2 separate regions of the Homo sapiens genome follow, and region 2 is linked to region 1. The links are contacts of gene promoters, found by promoter capture Hi-C in blood cells and fetal thymus (Javierre and others, 2016). All regions are on one chromosome and are shown on one strand. The core of a region is centred on a gene start or on the middle of the fragment in contact, and the rest is flanking DNA. Distances in the headings are between cores, read along the strand shown.

What was found. The method cuts DNA at HindIII sites, captures the fragments that hold promoters and counts their contacts. A CHiCAGO score of 5 or more calls a contact.
Region 2: a fragment that was not itself captured here is called in contact with the fragment with the promoter of CARD18 in region 1 in 1 of 17 cell types (neutrophils); the score reaches 6.7 in neutrophils.

Annotation. Positions count from the first base shown.
Region 1 is chr11:105,136,406-105,141,053 of GRCh38, reverse strand. It overlaps CARD18 (caspase recruitment domain family member 18), which reads left to right and starts at 1,285. Exons shown (of 3, transcript NM_021571.4): 1 at 1,285-1,334; 2 at 1,976-2,242; 3 at 2,956-3,340. The coding sequence starts at 1,328. The coding sequence ends at 2,241. The HindIII fragment of the contact is 11,660 bases long and covers 1-4,648 here.
Region 2 is chr11:105,297,293-105,302,186 of GRCh38, reverse strand. All of the region lies in intron 2 of LOC105369468 (a long non-coding RNA gene), which reads left to right. Among named protein-coding and RNA genes, the nearest start is that of CARD18, 160 kb to the right of the region's middle. RefSeq lists an enhancer at 4,048-4,894. The HindIII fragment of the contact is 1,658 bases long and covers 1,577-3,234 here.

The DNA of each region.
Region 1 (4,648 bases), core at 36-2,535:
CCAACCATTCTGGCTTCAGAGTCTGTGCCCTTAATCTTTGTAATACAGTGTTACTTAAAATGGTGCCATCTGAAGAAAAAGAGCCTTACGTAACAAAGCACTTTTATTCCAAATAGCAAAACTGCTTCATACACCATTTCTGCGTCTGGAGACTGCCTAGAGCTTAGGTAAAAAACAATGAAAGGAAGGTAAGAAGTCTTAGTCCATCTCACACCCATTAGGATGGCTATTATCAAAAGAACAGAAAAATAATATGTATTGGTGAGGACATGGAAAAACTGGAACGCTTCTGCTTTATATGTGGGAATGTAATACAGTGCAGCTGCTATGGAAAACAGCATACCGATTTCACAAAACAAAATGAAATAGAATTACTCTATGATTTGTCAGTTCCACTTCTGGGTATATATTCAAATAATTGACAGCAGAATCTCAAAAACATATTTGTATACCATGTTCATAGCAGTGTTATTTACAATAGCAAAAGGGAAGAAATTTGTGCTCAATGAAGAATGGGTAAACTAAAATGTGGTACATACATAGAATGGAGTATTATTCAACTTCAGAAAGAAAGGAAATTGTGACCCATGCCACAACATGAATAAACACCGAGGACATTACACTAAGTGAAATAAGTCAGGCATCAAAAAATGAATACTGTATAATTCTACTTACATGAGATACCTAGAGAAGTCAAATTCATAAAGACAGAAAGTACAATGTTAGTTGCCAGGGACTGATGGAAGGAAAGGATAGAGAGTTACTGTTTAAGGAGTATAGAGTTTCAATTTCCCAAAATGAAAACAACTACAGTTGGATGATATTGATGGCTACACAGCAATGTGAATGTACTTAATGCCACTGAACTGGATACTGTAAAATGGCTAAGATGGTAAATTTTATATTATGTGTATTTTACCACAATTTAAAAAAGGAACTCTTAGTACTTGATTTAGGTGGCACAACTACCCTATACTGTGATTTTACTTTCCATTTAAATCTCAGTGAATTAAAGATTGTTTACTGCATGTGTTTAGCTCTGTGTGTGCCTTCTCAATTCTCTCCTATTCTTGTTTCTCACCCACCAAGGAATGGTAAAGCAATTTTCTTATGGGCACAGTTCATGCTACAATCTGAGATTCAATTGTGTAAAAATACCTTGGGAAATGACAATAGTTAACAGCTTCTTGGGCAATAATTATAAATACACATGTGTAGGTGTAAGTATTGTTCATTGATCTGTGTACACGCCCTGCCTAAAAGGATAGAGCTACCTTGCCTGTCATTGCAAGTGTAACACACATTGCAAGTGCCAACGTGAGGAGCCATGGCTGGTGAGTCTTCCCCAGTAAGAGGATAGGTCTTAGGGAGGAATTAGTTTGGGAAAGGACTGCCTTTCTCATTAGGCTTTGTGAAGGTTTGTGTGGGCAGCCTTGGGGTGGAGAGAGAAAGAAGAAGGGAGAGGCAGGGTGGGAAGATGCCCAGACTTGCACAGCGTTTTTGAAGGAACAGATAAAGGCCAGGAAGAATCTGGGATCCTACTGGTATCTGCTATAATTTTGCTAGTGTTGTCCACATTTGAAGAGTTATGTAGTTCAGGATGAGAATGGGCACAGGATGGGTATCAGTAGCTGTTGTTCTCAAAGGAAACAGTCAATTCCCTTCAAAATTCATGAAACTGTCAATTCCCTTCAAAATTCAAGAAACTGGGATGTGTCAGAATAGAATGACTTCTGATTTTTAGGAGATTCACAGAAAAATCATGAAGTCAAGTTTCCCAGGTCACTCAGTGAGCATATGTAGGTAATGCTAGAATCAGAAGGAAGTACGTGGAGTAAATGCAAAGGTATAAGACCGTTCCTTGGGATTACTGTACTTGTGGAGAGAAATGTTTAAATGATTGTTACCCTGTTGGTAAATTGAGAGGGAAATTGTGTCATGTTCATTATTTGAGGAATCTTTGTGCTTCCAACAGACCAACTCTTGCGTAAAAAGAGAAGAATTTTTATCCATTCAGTGGGTGCAGGCACAATAAATGCCTTGCTGGATTGCCTATTAGAGGATGAAGTTATTAGCCAGGAAGACATGAACAAAGTGAGAGATGAAAATGACACTGTCATGGATAAGGCTCGAGTCTTGATTGACCTTGTTACTGGAAAAGGACCCAAGTCTTGCTGCAAATTTATCAAGCATCTCTGTGAAGAAGACCCTCAACTTGCCTCAAAGATGGGTTTGCACTAAGGTAAGGTGGAATGATTCAACCTAATGTCCAAATAGGCCCTGTATCTTGAATTCAGTTATGATTTTCTTCACTTGTCTTGTCAGTTGATAATAGGGTTCCTATCATTTTAGCCTCAGACTCCATTCCTTTATGCATGGCTCTAGCTTATGTCTCTTCTGTCTACGTTTTTGTGTCCCTTGTACCTGTTCTCTCAGTACTCCCTGCTGACCACAGCTCATCTCTAATTCTATGTAGGTGGTAGATCATTACTGTAGTTCATTTAAAGAGCCTAGATGTTTTATCCTGAATCTTTTAATGGTCCTGGGGAGCAATGTACAATATCACTCCCTCTTGAGCCTAAGAAGCCCATGTATTTATTAGAAGAGAAGGTATAAGCTCTTTTTGTACCTACCACCCTGCTCTTACCCCATCTCCCTATTAAGTACTTTTCAGAATATACAATGATGATGGAATTGTCAAAGAATAAATTGAGTGTGTATATAAAATTAAATATGCACTAAATAATTATATTTGCATGAAATTATATATGGATTCTCGTTGGAAGTCATCTCCTTTGCCTTTTCTTTTGTGTAATATGGTCTACTTGCATGGGGCTAGTCTACAGACCATTCTCTGTAGCCTATCCCTTTGTATTTCTAGGCCTCCTAAGAGCCCTGATGCAGGCTCTTGTATCTGAGCTGGCCCATTCCAATACCACTTTTCTCCCTCCACAGAGAGAAGATGGAACTCTGGAGCACTTCAGAGACTTCCCAGAGCTTCTTCCAAGGGAGAAGATATTCTCGTGAAAGAAAAAAACAAAACAAAACAACAGTGCTTTTTTCAAACCTGATTAATTTCATCAATTTCCAATAAATCTTTCATTCTCTCATATTACTTTCTTCTTATTCTTTCTCTCCTCATACCAACAGAGGATAATTCATCAATAATAATGAAGGTCATGATGATTGTAATGTAATTAAGAAAGTCCCTCCCTTTCCCTTCCTTTCTGTTTAGTTCCTTTGCAATCCTGTAGAGACATGTACAGCTTACTTTGGTGCTTTTAGCACTGAGAGTCTGCTGTGATGGGAATAAAATGAAGTCCCAGCTCAGAATTTTAAATAGCGTTGCTTCTTTGTAATGTTCTCATCTAGTTGTTCAGACCCAGGTCTATGACAATTACTCAACAAAATAAACACAACTTCCTTTCTGGGAAAATAATAGAGAAAAATCCATGGCAGATACTCCATTGCCAGACATCAGGCTTCCACAAAAAAACTGTTCATAAAAGCACTGATAGCATTTCAAGTCCACATGGGCAGGGTGAAACAAGATATGACTTAATGTCTGAGGAATGGAGATTTGTGGAGTCAAGATAGTGTGATGGCATGTCATCGCTTTGCACCCTTCAGAGCAAAACACTGGCTATTAATTATGCTTAAGCTGTCTTTTCCCTGTGTATATAGTGTTAAATAATGAAGCATTGTCTTCTAGATGCCTCAGGATGTCTTCTAATTTGTTAGCTCATGTCAATTTCTAAAATTTCTGGCATAGGTGCTAACAAAGCATTGGGTGCCAGGAACAAAGGCCAAAAGAATTTCCTGAATTTTTTAGGTTTGTGCACTTTTTCCAAGCTCTTTAGCAAACTAAAATAAAACTTAATGTGATTCCTCTCCTTTCTGAATTTGTCAGCCATAAATTACGGAGAAAATAATTATTATAGGTTGACACCAAATACAGTAAATGGGAATGTTTGTTACTTTCTTCTACAGAAGAGGTATATGCCACTGACCGGAAGTGTTTATTTGAGATAAGTGATTAAGGTTAGGGCTATTCTCATTTGCAATCAGCTGGTTTATTTGAGAAAACACATTTTGAGGGTGATATTGTTTGTCTCTGTGTCCCCACCCAAATCTCATCTTGTAGCTCCCATAATTACCACGTGTTGTGGCAGGGACCCTGCGGGAGATAACTGAATCACGGGGACAGGTCTTTCCTATGCTGCTCTTGTAACAGTGAATAAGTCTCATGAAATCTGATGGTTTTAAAAATGGGAGTTTCCCTACACAAGCTCTCTCTCTTTGCCTGTTGCCCTCCATGTAAAATGTGACTTGCTCCTTCTTGTCTTCTATTATGATTGTAAGGCCTCCCCAGCCATGTGGAACTGTAAGTCCACTAAACCTCTTTCTTTTGTAAATTGCCCAGTTTCAGATATTGTCTCGGAATAATACACAGGGATTTACATTTTGAGTGTAGTTTGGCAGTATGCTCAGTATTCAAGGGAACAAGTTTGAGGTGAAGATAGGTCTGTCATAAGCTCAGTGATCATTTGGAAATTATCTTAACCTTTTTGTGGCACAAATTCCTTATATGTAAAAAGGAATTAAAAACACCATCCACATAGAGTCTTTGAAAGAATGAAATGGGTTT
Region 2 (4,894 bases), core at 1,156-3,655, 160 kb before region 1:
GGCAAAGCATGAGGTGTGTGGCAGACTTGGTTATAGGGTTTGTGTAAGACTTGGGTGGTGTTGCATAAAAAGAGCTAGTAGTAGCAGCAGAGTCTAGAAAGGCATAAGGAGGCTGACATCACACTTAGAGAAGAGCTTAGTCTTATTATAGAAGATGAAAGGGGTCATTAAAATGATAACAGCTTTTTTGAATATAGCTTTGTACATGTATCCATGGCGGGATTATTTGCAACAGTAAACAGGTAGAAACAACTCAAATGTCCATCAGTTGATTAATGGATAAACAAAATGTGATGTGTGCATGCAACAAAACATGGTGTGTGCACTGTGGGTGAGTGTGCACATGCACACATACACATATGCACAGTGGAATATTTCTGTCACAAAAACATGGATGAAGAATGAAAACAGTAGGCTAAGTGAAAGAAGCTAAATTCAATGGCCACATATTGTATGATTTCATTTACATAAAAATCTAAAGTATACAAAGCAGATTGGTAGTTACCAGTGACTGAGAGAAGAAAGAACAATGAAGTCCTGTGTAATGAGTACATAGTTTACTTTAGGATGAGGATGTTCTTGAAGTAGGTATTGGTGATGATTACACAACATTGTGAATGTATTAAATGCCACCAAAGTTTACATTTTCAAATTGTTAAAATCATAAATGTTATATTATGGGTATTTTATCATAATGGAAAAAAATAAATACATTAACAGCTTAAAACTAGGGAACATAACAGGAATAGTGGTACCAAAGAACCACAAAATGACTGGCGAACAGTCACTTTGTTAGAAGCATCACACAGTTGCATATGCAGGATTCTGGGGGAGATGCCTGATTTGCAAAGCTGACCAGCAAAATGTTTCTAATGGGACCTCTCCCAGAACATGGAGTTCATTTTTATCCCCTTTGTATTATTTGCCCTTTATTATTACAGCCATGCAGATACCTCTTTGAATATGGGAGCTATGTCTATTATTTTGGCACTAAAGGTAATGCTAGAATCACAGTAGACATTTAAGAAAGTGACTTCATGATTGGGTTTTAGTGTTAATGTGACCTTAAAATCAGTATAGTGTAAACCCCTAAGAGGACAATTTCCTTACATGGGCCTTCCCCATTCTCTTAATAGGCTATTCTTCATTTTCCAATTAAATCGTGTTTACTTTCCTTTTCAAACTACTAAACAGTATACCTTTGTAGCTTGCATCATAGTTTGCTTTTTCTTCAGGGTGAATACTTTGAATAGTAATTTCTTTCATGTTGTCTGAATTCTATTCCAATTGTAAAAGAATTTATATAACCTGGGTGAACCATGCTAACCTAATGTTATCAACATATATCAATCTAGTGAGTTGATCAAATACATATTAACCTTGGATTTTAAAATCAGAAAATTAAGGCTCAAGGTAATTAAGTGGCATGGCATAAATAATAGAGGTCAGAGCCTGCACTAGGACTTGGGACTTCACTTTCGAATTGGCAATGAGAGGCACTCAGTCTAGACCTGACAGAGACTAATCCAGGGTCCTTCATTCCAGTAGGCTGAGGTCTGTCAGCCAGTTTTAAGCTTGACCTTGTAGAGTGACTTTAAACTTCACCTAATGCTTCTTCCTCATAATCCTCCTGCCTGTACTGCTAACGCTCTAAAGGGAAATTTAGGCCATCCTTTTCTACCTTCCTCAAAAGCCTTATTCTTAGTCTTCTCCTTTGAGTGATCTCAAGGTTTGGGGACAAGTATTCAGAGTATAAGAAAGTTTGGAACTCATTTTATGGCCTCACTGGATTTTAAGAAATATCTGTGACCTTGGATGTGATGCAGTGCCTTCGTGGTATCGGAATGTACAGCACTAATGATCTCACTGATTGCAGTGAATAATGCAATCCATGCATTACAGGAATCCATACATTACAAAAATAATGATCTCATGTGTTGCAATGAATTTTTTATCCCAAACACTTCTTATAGGACTGAGTTGCTATACCTACAATGAAATCCCTCTCACTTTGGACTTATTACATTTTAAATGACCTCATTATTTTTTTTTTGTTACTTTAAGTTCCGGGATACATGTGCAGAACATGCAGGTGTGTTACATAGGTATACGTGTGCCATGGTGGTTTGCTGCACCTATCAACCTGTCACCTAGGTTTTAAGCCCCACATACATTAGTTGCTGATGCTCTCCTTCCCCTTGATCCCTGCCCCTGAAAGGCCCTGGTGTGTGTGTTTTCCCCTCCCTGTTTCCATCTGTGTCCATGTTTTCTCATTCTTCAGCTCCCACTTGTGAGTGAGAACATGTGGTGTTTGCTTTTCTGTTACTGGGTTAGTCTGCTGAGGATGACAGCTTCCAGCTTCATCCATGTCCCTGCAAAGGACATGATCTTATTCCTTTTTATGGCTGTATAGTATTCCATGGTGTATATGTACCACATTTTCTTTATCCAGTCTATCATTTATGGACATTTGGGTTGGTTCCATGTCTTTGCTATTGTGAATTAGACATTTAGGAGATTACATTAAATAACTACTTAAGAGTTAATACAAATTACTTTTTAGACTATCCGAATGGCACATCTGTATTATCATTGGTACATGGTACTCAGTCATCTATACATTAACTTTGGTTTTAAATGTGATTAAATCAAATCAACCATTTAGTATATTTTTAATCATAGGTTCTGGCATTCATAAACCAGTCAAGATTTTAGTCCAGCTAGCCTCTGCATTTTATCTATATTCAATTCTCTGAATCTTACTGTTTGGTCCCACAATAGCAATAATTTTGCTTCTATTATTAGTTTTAATAGAGACAATTTAATGAGTATACACATATATATTTTGTGCAAACCACTGTTACATACATTATTTTATTAAATCCTTGAAGCAACACTTTGAGGTAGGTATTTTGCGTTTTTATAAATAATTTAATAGTATTCAGAAAAATTACCAAGTAAATAAATAAAAAAAACAGATTTGGAGCCTAGATTTTTCTAACTCCGGAGCCCATTTACTTAACCATTTTCCATATAAGTATTCTCATATTTCATATTCTAAGTAGGTATATTCCATAGTTTACATAAGTATATAATTATAGAATTAATCAACAACATTATAAAACACTATTTGAATGCTGACTGATGGAGTGCTGCTCCGGCCGCTCACCAATTCCCCTATTTTTAGTATTGTGTGTCTTTGGCTATGTCCTGTCCCAGGGGTCAGATAAAGCTTCTCTCCTGAACAGAGTTGTGAGAGTTGACACTTTTATTTTTTTCTGTGTACATGACTTGAATCTAGGTAGAGTTTAAGATCCCAGAGGATGAATCATAGCACCTCCCAAAGGCCAGGACTCCTCTGTGAAGCAGAGAGCAGGGGAAAACATAACTTCAGAGTAAAATGCCACCGCACAGGCCCATTCATCCTCTCCACCAAACTCTCCTGGGGGCCAGTGAACTCTCCAGATAGTGGCCAGGCTCTCAATGATCTGCAAACCTTTGAGTCTTATGAAGAACTCTTGTAGTCAGGCCTTGTATTCACCCCTGGGAGAAATCCTTTGGTCTGAAGTGTCTGCTTACTGGACTTCACAGCTGCTAATCCAGCTGCCATTGGTAGGATTCCTTCATTCTTGTCTTCCCTTAGTGACAGCACCCCACCTGGGCAGCCTACAAATCCACTCAGCGTTCTCCTCACAGCTTCTCTCTAATCCTTGTGGGAAAGTAATGATCAGCTTCAGATCTTATGTCTGTGCCTGTCATCTTCTGCAGAGAGATATGCTGAGGCCTGGCCTTCATCTTGAGTCTTCATAGCATTGCCCCATGTGATAGCTCCAACTATCTGTTCTACTTCCTCAGCTAGGGCCTCTGTATTCAGCCCACGTCTGTGATTAAGCAGCCCTAAATGTTGTTACCACAAACATATGCTTTTCTTTGATTTATACAGTTTTGATTCAATCTAACAAACAGTTCTAGGATCTTGGTCCCTGACCTTTTTCACCTTAACATATTGAAAGTCCACTTATGCAAGGACATAAATATTTGAATATTTACTTAAGGAAGAGTAGAGATTCCCTACCCCCAATTTAATGAATTCATTAAAATATTCTCATTAGTATAAAGGTAGTTTTCAAATGTTTTTTTCCTTATGCTTTTCTGCAGTATTTGTATCTAATTTTAGAAATGTTGTTTTTGTAATTTTAAGGTAATTATTTTGCTTGTGGGCTTATTTTATTCTCATTAGTCTTGAATTTAAAAATTTTATAGTGAATATTTATTACTTTTCTTAAAAGAAATTACACACAAAGCAAGGGACATTTTTGTCATTTGTATTAATTGATCTGGATTTTTCTTTTTCAGATCAAAGGTCTCATTAGAGGGTTAAATCTAAGTAAGAAAACTAAGAAAAATCTCTCTGGGTTATGTGCCACACTTTTTAGTCATAAAACAAAGATGCTTTTAAGATCTCTTTATCATCCCCTGGTCTTCTCGAATTTTTCAACTGATCTCTGAGTCACTGCTGACAAAAATAACAGGAAATACTATTATCTCTGTAGAGAGTAATTTTTCCCTGACGCCTTTTCAAAAAGATGATTTTGACTAATTTTCTAACATGAGTAATAATGAGGTAGAAAAGTTCATATGAATCATCTTATCTGAATTCCATTTTATAGGTCTGTTTTTAAAATAATTTTCACACAACACAATAGGAGAGGACTAAATGGAAATCAAGAAATGTTAGGTTTCTATCTTTCACACTTTGAAACTATGATAAATTAATATTGAGATATATTTGTTATTGCATCCCACTACGTAGATGAATTTATATTCAAAACTGAAATTAGAGCTTTGTGAGACAAGTACCTTTTCATGGGCAACACACTAATATTTATTCTAT